Regions from separate parts of the Homo sapiens genome. Here regions 2 and 3 are each linked to region 1. Evidence: promoter capture Hi-C in 16 types of primary human blood cells and fetal thymus (Javierre and others, 2016). All regions are on one chromosome and are shown on one strand. Each heading gives the region's core, a stretch centred on a gene start or on the middle of the fragment in contact. The rest is flanking DNA. Distances are from core to core; before and after follow the strand shown.

Region 1 (3,649 bases), core at 464-2,963:
CACTCACATTTCTCCTCCCAACCCACCACTCTAACTGTCTTTCTTTTAGCACAACTGTTGTAAATACATGATCCCCAGAACAGCAGCATCGCATCACCTGGGAACTCATTAGAAATGCAGATTACCAGGTACCATCCAGAAACTCTGAATCAGAAACTGTGCCCAGCAATCTATGCTTTAACAAGACCCTCCCCACGAGGACATTATTCTGATGAATTCTAATGTTTGAGAACCAGGGTCTTAGGGCACTGTTTCTGAAACTTTGTAGTGTATTAAAATCATGTGGGGTGCTTTAAAAAATTCCAATGCCCAGGCCACACCCCAGGTCAAGTAAATCAGGTTCTGTGGGGGTAGAACCCAGGCATCGGATGGATGTTTGGAAAACTCTCCACTGATTCCAATGTGCAGTCACAGTTGAGCCCCATTGCCTAAGGGTAAAGAACTCAAGAATATTAGTCGGCCATTTTCCCTATGGTGGAGAGCCTGTAGCTTTGAGCCCCGTAGAGAGAAGCCTTCCTGTGGGAGGAGAAAACAGTGTGTAAAATGAAGAAAGGGGCCAAACTGGGCATGCCTAAGCTTCGAAGGCCTCTTTCATTATAGGCTAGCTGCTGTAATGAAACAGGCAATTGCACCTGAGATTTTTCTGAAGTTGAAATGACCACGTGGAAAGGGAACAGCTTCTCTCCACAGTCCATCAAGAGGGGAGTGGCCAATGGGCCGCTTGGAGGACAAAGACCAGGGACACGCCCATTATCTGAGGCTTCAGGTATATTAAAATGAAGAAATCCCCAAATAGGGTTTCAAAAATTGTGATATACTATATTTTAGAAGTTTACATTTAATAAATTAAGGCTTTAACACGTGTAAGCTTTAAAAAAAAAACGCACAGGGTAATATAACCATCCTATTCACGGGATAATGGCAGGATTAATCTTAAAAATTCATGGGCCTGGTACCAAAATCAGGCATAAGTTTAAAGCTGATGATCATTTCCATCTTTTCAGTCTTATTAGCATATCTTCAGAGATAAATTTTTAAAAATCCAAATGTGAAGTCTCTGTGAGTGTGAGATCCCTGGATGAAAGGCCCTCCTTTGCCATGCCCCTGGGGCAGACTAAGAGGACCGCTGGAAAGAGATCCTAAGTGTGGCCCTGGAGCAGCTGTGAATGATTAGGTTGTGGGAAGACAACTGACATCTGGGTGCCTTGCGGCAGCCTGACCAGGGAGGTGGTGTCAGGGAAGCCAGAGCACCCCCCTTCCTCAGTGTGTTCCAGAGCAGTACAATACCTGCCTCCCTACACATAATGGATGCCTGCCCACCACCCTCTGTCCTCAGGCACACTTGGCTGCTGACAACAGGAAGTGAAACAGCCACACCCTCCTTTGACCCTATTAAGGTAACTCCTAGTTTGATACAGAGGCTTCCGGGGAGGGAAAGAAATAAGGGAGACACTTACCTTGTGCAGCACCTGCAGTGCTGTTGGTTTATAAAAGCACGAAATCTTCTGTCCCAGAGGCTGGACTGGGCTCATGACTGCATGTGAGATTGTGCTTTGGGAAGAGAAAGCAATCCCAGACTGAACAACAATTTTCTGGTGGCAGGTGCATCCATGAGGAGCTGCAGTCGGTCCCAGCAGCATATGCTTTCTCCTCTGGGAGGGCAACTCGGAGACGTGCAGACTAACGGGACCACTGGCTGCAAGCCTCAGAAACCTCTCAGGAGGTCCCTGGCAAGGCCTGTGGTATCTGGGCAGTGCAGGCAGCCTGGGCACCATAGGACAAAGGGGCGGGGAGTGGGGCAGGGAAGAAACAGCACAGAGGAAACAGCACACCTTGTTCTCATTGACTCGGAGTCAATGGCTGCCCACAGACTCTATTTCCTGGAGATTCAAGCCTCACACTGTCCTGTCCTCTCCCCTGAGTAAGTCTTCCAGAGAGTAAGAGCCACACCCAGGCAGAGGTGGGTGAGGCTGGGGTTCAAAGTACAGAGCCAGCCCTTTTATCTCATAGGCAGAGGAAATCATCCACTGTAAACCCACAGCGTCCTCCACCAGGGCAGCGTTTGATTCCTCCGTCTCATATCTCCGCTTGCCTTCCCTGTGGGTCAGTAGTTCCTGAGTTTCTCTAGCCTATAGAAAACATGAGGAGGAGGAGGAGAGATGGAGGGGGAGGAGGAGGAGAAGAGAAGGGAAGAATGAGCACATGGACTGCCCAGCCCCAGCCCCATGGCACCAGCATGGTAAACACTTGGAGGGAGGCCAGCCGTCTGGCGCCTCCAGTCTTCCACATCACCCCAGCCAAGATTCAGACCTGTATATTCTGGGCTCTTTCTGCCCCATTTCACCCAGGCTTTAAATTACCCAGACTTGGGTCTGGGTTATTCTATCCAAAACTTTCCTCTGAAATCTAGATTGTGATGCAATGTATACGTTCTCTAAATCAGATTTCTGAGGACTAAATGCCAGACCGCGTGGCGTAGCAGTCTGGCTGCAAACCATTTCCGTCAGCCCAGCGGAGGAACGCACAACAAGGTGCTCATCCCCGCAGCCGTGCACAGGAGACAGCAACGGTCCAGGTAAATTAGAAAGGCCTAACTTGAGCCAGCTAGTCATGGCAATTTAGGGAAAGTAAGGACTACACAGAGGCTCTGGGACGGCTTGCGGAATCAATGCCTAAGTTGCTGGATTGCTCCTTCTTTGGCTATGGAGCTAGTGGTTCCAAAATCTACCCCTTGATTCCTTAAGATGGAAGACCATTTAGACAAGCTGAGCCAAAACCCAGAGTCTTGGAACAAGCCTGTAACAATAATAGCAGCAGTAATGACAATGATTTTTAATATTCCTTGCTTAACAAGTGCTGGCCACAGTTCATGTTTTACATGGATTTACTTGGGGAATTTGATCGCTGGATCGAGGTGAGGACCATCCTCACTCCTCAGCTCCCCGGAGGACAGTCCCTTCCCCTCTGCTAGTCCTTTGACACAGACCCATTTTGACTTTTCAACTTCAACATTCTAGTTCAAGTCTTGGCCAGCTGTCAGCCTGGGCTTGTTTCTTCTCATCACAAGAAAAGAAACAGGGCTGCGAAGAGTAGCAAGCCCCTGACTGCTGCCCTTAAATGAGCTAGCCTTTAGGAGAAACACCCGAAGGTCAGGAGGCAAGCACTGTTTGCTCATGGCTATTGTTCCTCTGGGGAGCTGTGAGGGTGGGGTGAGTGGGGGAGGGTCTCTCATTTTGTGACTACACAGTATATAAAAAGCTGAAATGAAAATAATTCAGAAATTATTGTTGTCTTTATAAAACAACCTGTTCTGGGGTACCTTTCTGTACTTCCCTAAGTATATTTAAAACACAATTTTAAAATTCAATTTAACAAAGCCCCATCAAGACACATGCACTGCATCGTGCACATCTGTATAAATGCTCTTAAAGTGCAGGTTTGCATGAACCTTATTTTTCTAGAGGAGTGTGTCCTCTTGGGGAAAGAGGGAAAGAAGGCAGTAAAAATAGCATCGTGTCGCTGCTGACTGTGCATTGGCCACACAGCTAAGCACAGAGTGCCTAGAGAGCTTTGGCAGGATCATCACATGTTGTCCTCACAACAGACCCATGAGGGAGGTATCTCATCCCAATTTACAGATGAAGAAACT
Region 2 (3,649 bases), core at 407-2,906, 330 kb before region 1:
CTCGGTCAAAAAGAACTCACAAAAACAAATTAAAAATAGTAGCCTCCTTTCTTTTGACAACGAAGACGAAAATGAGTAAGTGTAAATATTTTGAATTCAGTCTACTTTGAAAGTATATGGAGTGTTCATTAAAATCACATTTTTTTCCTATTATAAAGATACTACAAGTTCTTTATAGAAAGTTTAGGAAATAGAGAAAAAAATTTAATAAACTACATCTATTCATCAATACCCCTCTGACTTAAAATGCCAACTCTATAGAAATTAGCTAGTATTAACATTTTGTTATTTCCCTTGTGTGGTTGTATATATATGTAAATTATATTTCTAAGCAAAATACATTTTTTGTGTGTGTAAACAAAATTTTATAAATACAACTGTATTGCAAATGTTCTTTGTCCTGCTTCTCACTTGACATTGCATTATGAGTATTCTTCCAGGTCAGTAAATTTCAAAAACCTGACATTAATAGCTACAGATAATTTCATAAACATCTCATTGTATCTTTTTCATTAGCAATAGCTCCACTTTGGGTGGGGGAGATGATAATGTGCTTTGTTAAAAATACCTCCCCAACTCCTGCTAAGGGTGGCCATGAGACTCAGCTCTGGCAAGTTAAGAAATACAGGTGGAATTCTGCTTGATAAAGCTGCTGGGTTTTTTTGTTACAAAAGGACAGACTTGGCAAGCATGAGCCTTTGCTCTTATCTTTTCATCCTACTTGGAGTGCAGAGATAAAACCTGAGTACCAGAGCCACTTTTAGGCATAAGGAAGGCAGCCATGTGCTTTGGGTCATGTTAGTAAAAAGACTCAGAGCTTGGCTCCTTGCTGACATGCCTGGAGGAGCTGCTACACCAGCTTGGATTGCTGACCTCTGACTTCTTGGTAGTGAGAAGAATAAACACTGTGCTTAATTAGGCCTCGGTCAGGTTTCTCTTATATGCAGCCAAATGCAGTCCTAAGTAATACAATAAATAACTGGTCAAACTGTTACTGGTGGAGGGTGTCCAGGTTCTTGGCATTTTGGACAAATAATTGAACAAAACGCACAAAGCAATGAATATCCTCTAGAGGTTTGCCATTGGTTACTTGGCGTACACCCTGTGTAAATGAAGTAGTGGCCCGTGACCTGTCTGATTGGTGCAGAAAGTGACCAATCAGAGGCTGAAGTGAAGTTACAAAGTTATACTCCTGTGTAAATGAGGACTTGGCTTATGACCAGTCTGATTGGTTGCAGGAGGGGACCAATCAGAGGCACTTTCATGTTTCATCTGCAATGCAGAAAAGGCAAGGGGATTGCAAAGGGAGTAGCCTCTGATCCTTTTGTTACTTAGGTATGGAGAGGTGGGGTTTTCCTTTTGATTCAGTTCTAGGAAGTCAATGTGAATCAGCCTTAGGTTCCCTGTCTCCAGACCCTATTCTCCTGCCTCATTTTCCCCCTGAGAGACGTGATCCTCGTAAATCTTTACGGGAGGCTGAGAGACTGAGGGTCTTTCTTCTGTAACTGCTTCATGCTAACTTGGGACACAGTCCCTACCTACTGGAGATCACGTAACTCTCACCCTGCTTTGTCTAGGGGAGACAGGGTAGCTTCTTGATGGCCGGTGGTGTCTTTACCTGAAACTGGCTAGAAATCTTGTCACATGATCATCTAACTTGGTGGTCTCTAGGCAAAAGGAAATGGATTTGGTTAAAAGATTTAACAAATATGGTCCAAAAACCAAGGCAAATATAATCATTAATAATGGGCTGGCCAAGGGAGGGAGCCATGAAACCCAACTTAGTGCCCTTTAGGTGCCCCAGCTGTTGTCATATTTTAGAGGCCCAGTCAGCTAGTTTTCAGGTGGTGTCCCTTACTAATCCTGATTGGCTGACATCAAAACAGCATTCTTCTTCTAGGAAAATACATAAGCCACCTGTTTCAGCAGTTAGGAGATCTAGTCCCCTTCAATTTTGCAAAGCGACCACTGCCAAGGAGCCTATCTGAATTTGTAAGGTGACAATACTTTGAGCAATGTTATCCAGGCTTTCCATAAAATCCTTGGACAAGCGTTGGTAATAGGATAGGGAAGTTGCAATCCCGCTAACTCCCATTCCTACCCCTGCTGTTATTCCTAGCCGTTGTGTCTGGTGGTTGCAGTTAAAGGTATAATGAGGGATTGGTTGTTGGGAGCTATATTAATTTAGGGACATACAATATTTCTGTCTCCAGTCTACCACTTCCACCAAAGACAAATCACAGCAGAACCGACCTAACTTCAAAATAAACTTCAGTCCCGTATACTGGGCCTGATTACCCACACAAAGTGCAACAAGAATCATTGTCCATATAGACTCTCCTAGATTGGCTTTGCTAGAACATTTCACAAGGCCATTTCAGTCAAAGTCCTGAGAAAGTAACCGGTTTCAATTGTGCCCTATTACAAAAGAAAACGTGGTTATTAACTTTATACAGACAAATGCCATGAATTAAGAATATTCATAAATAGTTTACAAATTCTGGAGAAATTAGAATACTCAATACACTTAAAGTGTATTTCAAGGCTATAAATAGCTCAAAATAAAAAGATTATTCAGACTCTGAAAAAACAAAAAGAAGTAGCAATATTTCAAACAACAAAAGCCATACAAATTATTTCAGTCTTCCATTAGTTCATTTCAGTCCATGTAATCAACTCCTGCTCTACTTCATATTCATCTTTATGAACACATCAGCCTTTCAATTAGTGCCTTGGAAGTTTTCTGTCTAATCCAATGGCACACTCTCCAAAGTTACCAGAAACCTGCATTCAAGAGTTCTTTTCATGAACTCCAAAGAAGTAAGCCTTGGACTGTAGCTGATTATAAGTCACTTTTTTTTTTTGAGAAGGATCACAGCAAAACATCAATTATGGATGACAAAAGTCTTAAGACAGCCATAAAGACACAGTTGACAAATGTGGCTATTTCTGTGGCTTACAACAATTTAACATAATCATTACAACATATATTAAGACATATCAGAATTTTAGAACTCTCATACAATCCTGGAACACATATTAACAACAAATCTCTATCAGTATAACCCAAAGGAAGCTAAACACCACTTCACACTTGACAATGTTTCCTGTATAATTCAAACATTACAAATAAGCCTAATATGTCACTCTTGAACTTCAGGAAGCCTAATATCCAAAAAGTTAGTTTAGGGTCAAAAGTTTTTGAATTAACTTTTTTCCATTAGTATGGTCATATCTTTCTTACTAATTTGTAAGTTATGTAATTTATCAATTTTTTTGTTGTTGTTCTGTTTCCCAACCTCTATGTCAGATAAAGAATCACCCAGGCCAGACACAATGGCTCATGCTTGTGATCCCAACACTTTGGGAAGCCAAGGTGGGAGAATTGCTTGAAGCCAGGAATCTGAGCCCAGCCTGGGCGACAAAGCAATACCCCTATCTCTACAAAAAATAAAAAATAGCCAGGTGTAGCGACACACACCTGTGGTCCCAGCTGCTCGGGAGGCTGAGCAGGAGGATGGCTTGGGCCCAGGAGTTCAAGGCTGCAGTGAGCTATGATTGCGCCGCTGCACTCCAGCCTGGGCAACAGAGTAAGAACTGTCTCAAAAAAAATAAAAAATAGAAATAAATTTTAAAAAAAGAATTACCC
Region 3 (3,649 bases), core at 584-3,083, 310 kb before region 1:
ACTGCAGCCTCAACCTCCCGGACTCAAGAGATCCTCCCACCTCAGCCTCCTGTGTAGCTGGGACTACAAGTGTGTGCCACCACTCTCGACTAATTTTGTATAATTTTTGTAGTGATGAGGTCTCACTATGTTGCCTAGGCTGGTCTCAAATTCCTGGTCTCAAACAATCCTCCTGTCTCAGCCTCTCAAAGTGCTGGCATTACAGGCTTGAGCCACCGCACCCGGCCTCCTGCATTTCTAAAATTTCTAAACCCAATGAAAACTTTCACTAATCTTCATCACATGCACCTATAAGGGTGTAGTTACAAATTGTCTTTTCTAAAGAAACCCATGGATTTTACATTGCCTCTTTCCAAGGAGAAAAGTCATACAGTATCCAAAGTTACACAACGGGTCAGGAGAACAGCCCAGAATACCTGTCAGTGTCTCTCGATTGAAGTGTTTATTCACAGAAGCAAAGTCATGTTTAAAGCTGAAAAAGTATTTCCTAAAATATACTCTAGTTGAATATTTCAGGTACAATAGTAAGTAGGTCACTTGCTCTCTAGGATTCAAAGAATATGGGCCTGCATTACTCTGTTTCTGCCCTGAACAGGAAAGTTAAAAGGAAACACTGCACAACAAGAAAATCCACAGCACACAGCTATTTAAGCAGCTGTGGCTTGGGGGTCAGGTCTATCACTGAAAGCTTTATAGATAATCTTCAAAACTAATTTGACCCACAAAAGTAAAACCAACTGGGCTTTCCCAAAAAATCTGCAAAAACCATATTCATAGTATCACCCTCCCTTCCAGATAATTTATAGTCAGAAATTGAACCCAAGAATAAATGCCCTAGAAATATTTTTTTAAATAGCCTAAATTTGACTGTCAAATCATGTTCCTTCTCCATGTTTTTTTTCAGTGTCTAATCTGGTCCTACTCCTACCCCCAAATAATTTTCCAGGGGTCCCAGGGGTGCCCCATGCTCTACACACCTTCTTTTTTTTTTTTTTTTTTTGAGATGGAGTTTCGCTCTTGTTACCCAGGCTGGAGTGCGATGGCACAATCTTGGCTCACTGCAACTTCCGCCTCCCGAGTTCAAGCAATTCCCCTGTCTCAGCCTCCCAAGTAGCTGGGATTACAAGCATGCACCACCACGCCCGGCTAATTTTGTGTTTGTAGTAGAGACGGGGTTTCTCCATGTTGGTCAGGCTGGTCTCAAACTCCTGACCCCAGATGATCCGCCTGCCTCGGCCTCCCAAAGTGCTGGGATTACAGGTGTGAGCCACCGCACCCGGTCCTACATCTTCTTGGATGCTATCTGCCACACAAAATAGAATAAGAGCTAGAAGGGACCTGACAGGAATACAGCTACTTCTATAGATAAGGAAAACTTGGTCCTGAAACAAACTCACCAAGGCTACAGCTTGCTAGTCCCAATATTGTAATTCCACCCCCCAGTGTCCCATCCCTCTAGGTCTCATCAGGTCATTCATTTTCACTAGAAGTAAGTGTAGGTCAAAGCAACTGGATTCATTACTACTCCTCTCAGAAAACAACTAACAAGGGGTTTTGGTTGAGAAATTTCAGAAAAAAACTGGTTGGTTGGTGGGGAACAATTTTGAACGATGGGTACTTTCCATGTCCTCAAATCACATTCTGCCTGTAAATAAATCACACTTCAAAAATACAAACATAAGAACTGATCTGTAGTGACCCGCTTATTGGCAACTGTAAAGAATGTAAGCTGCATGAGGAGAGAAACTCTGTTTTATTCACATCTGTATTTCCAGTATGTAGAATAGAAGCTGGCACTGAATAGCAGCTCAACAGCAAATATTCGTTAAATGAACAAAATGAAGAAAGCATCCCTCTTTTCTTCTCTCTATAGTCCATCCCCACCCCCATTTTGTTCTCTTAAGGTCTAGTTTCCTTAATCAAAACTATGTTCTGAGGTAAATATCTACCTGTCATTTATACTTTCGTAGCCTTTAAGTCACTGCTTGGAGTGTTTGGAATTTCAGTTTCACATCTAACAAAAGGCTTTGAACCCCCATCGCAGGTCTCCAGTCTCAGCCAACAATGGAAGGCCTTTGTGGCCAGGCCTTTCTGCACATATGGCCAAGATTTGGATTCTTTGGAAGAATAGCAAACTATTCATTGGAACAGCTCCCTTCCCCAGTGACCTCTTGATTCCCTCCTGTGGCTCTCCTTAGCCTTCATATCCTTGTAAAGTAATCTAAAACCCTATCTTCCTGCTGTCTTTATCTTCCTTTCTCAGCTGTCAAAACCTGGAAGACATGCTGCTGTTGCATATTTAGCCTCAACTATATTGTTTAATAAATGCCAAGTTGCCAGTTTCTCACACTCCACTCTATGAAGCCAGAACACCTCACCTTACTGAGTTAACCAGGAACCCATGCTCACCCTATAATACACTAGGGGGTGCTGTTGCTATATCCAGACCCAGTTGCTGTAGCCCGACTGGAAACAGGAAAAGGAAACAAGGGAGCCTTCAGGGTCCTGAGAGACATTTCTAGATGGGCCACTCTCTGCACAAGCCCTCAGCACAGTTCCTCAGAAGCAAAGAACATTATACCTTACCAAGCCACACAATTCCAGAATGAAGTTCACAAATGGTACAAAAAGAAGGGAGGGCTGAAGATCTCCAAGCGAAAGGCTTTATTGTAAGACTCATTAACATACATGGGCCTACACAATCATATTTATGCCAGCTGCTAGATGTGAATAATTAATGCTCACCCTGCTACCAGTTAAAACTCTGTTTAGACAATCAAGTGGCAAATACTGTCAGGCAGAATCGGATACAACAAATGCAATCATAACAGGCGAGAAATACTTGAGTTTATCACTGATTTTCACAATCATCTTTCCTTGTATGTGATATCTAAGACTTTGGGAATGAAAGTTTTATATACAAACAAATGAGTATCCACCTCTCTCAGCCCGCGGCTTGGCTGCTGCACAAAGCTTCCAAGCTGCCAGGGAAGCCTCCTTGGCCTCACTTAACTCTTTGCTGAAATGACTGGTAGACCCCATATGACAGAGAAAGCTCTCACATACATCAAAAAGGCTTTTGGCCTTTCAAATTTCTGAATAAGTCATCATGAAAAAAGAAATATTTTGTTGGGTTTGTGGATTTTTTTAAGATAAGTTTTAAAATGTGCATTTTAAAAAAATTATCTGAACGAGACCCTCACCTAACAGTGTGAACGTTAAACATTCCCACACAGAGAAGAATGGATCTCCACCAAGGGAAATATGTCTGGTATTAATCCAAGAAGAAACAATCTAGCTCACCCTCCCTGCCCCACAAGCTAGGGTTTCATACCCTTTGTGGTATGATTTGCAGTACTCCTCACAAAATGCTAGTAAGAACTCATTAATGCTAACAATTGAATTGGAACTATCTTTGGCTCCAAAAGCAACCCAGCCAAGCTAGAAACTTGAAGGATCCCAAAGTAAATCAAGAGGAACTAAGACAAAGGTGCCATTCTAGGGCCAATCTTCACAGAATGGTTTCCCTTTTGCCCTGAATCCCATCCCTAAAAGAGACCGAATCCCAGCTGTAGCTGCATCATACTTTCAAATGAAATGCAAGGCATTTCTGAGCCCAGGTTTTTCCACAACGACTAGATTGACATTT

The links. Contacts are between HindIII fragments. The CHiCAGO score rates a contact against its expected background, and 5 or more counts as called.
Region 2: a fragment that was not itself captured here is called in contact with the fragment with the promoter of LINC02313 in region 1 in 4 of 17 cell types (naive B cells, naive CD4 T cells, total B cells and 1 more); the score reaches 6.2 in naive B cells.
Region 3: a fragment that was not itself captured here is called in contact with the fragment with the promoter of LINC02313 in region 1 in 15 of 17 cell types (naive CD4 T cells, non-activated CD4 T cells, total CD4 T cells and 12 more); the score reaches 31.5 in naive CD4 T cells.

What each region holds. Positions count from the first base shown.
Region 1 is chr14:31,942,917-31,946,565 of GRCh38, reverse strand. It overlaps LINC02313 (long intergenic non-protein coding RNA 2313), which reads right to left and starts at 1,713. Exons shown (of 2, transcript NR_146544.1): 1 at 1,458-1,713. RefSeq lists an enhancer at 1,232-2,431. The HindIII fragment of the contact is 3,310 bases long and covers 871-3,649 here.
Region 2 is chr14:32,268,285-32,271,933 of GRCh38, reverse strand. It overlaps the pseudogene KIAA1143P1. Among named protein-coding and RNA genes, the nearest start is that of AKAP6, 59 kb to the left of the region's middle. The HindIII fragment of the contact is 6,403 bases long and covers 1-3,649 here.
Region 3 is chr14:32,251,049-32,254,697 of GRCh38, reverse strand. No RefSeq gene overlaps it. Among named protein-coding and RNA genes, the nearest start is that of RNU6-8, 50 kb to the right of the region's middle. The HindIII fragment of the contact is 2,285 bases long and covers 691-2,975 here.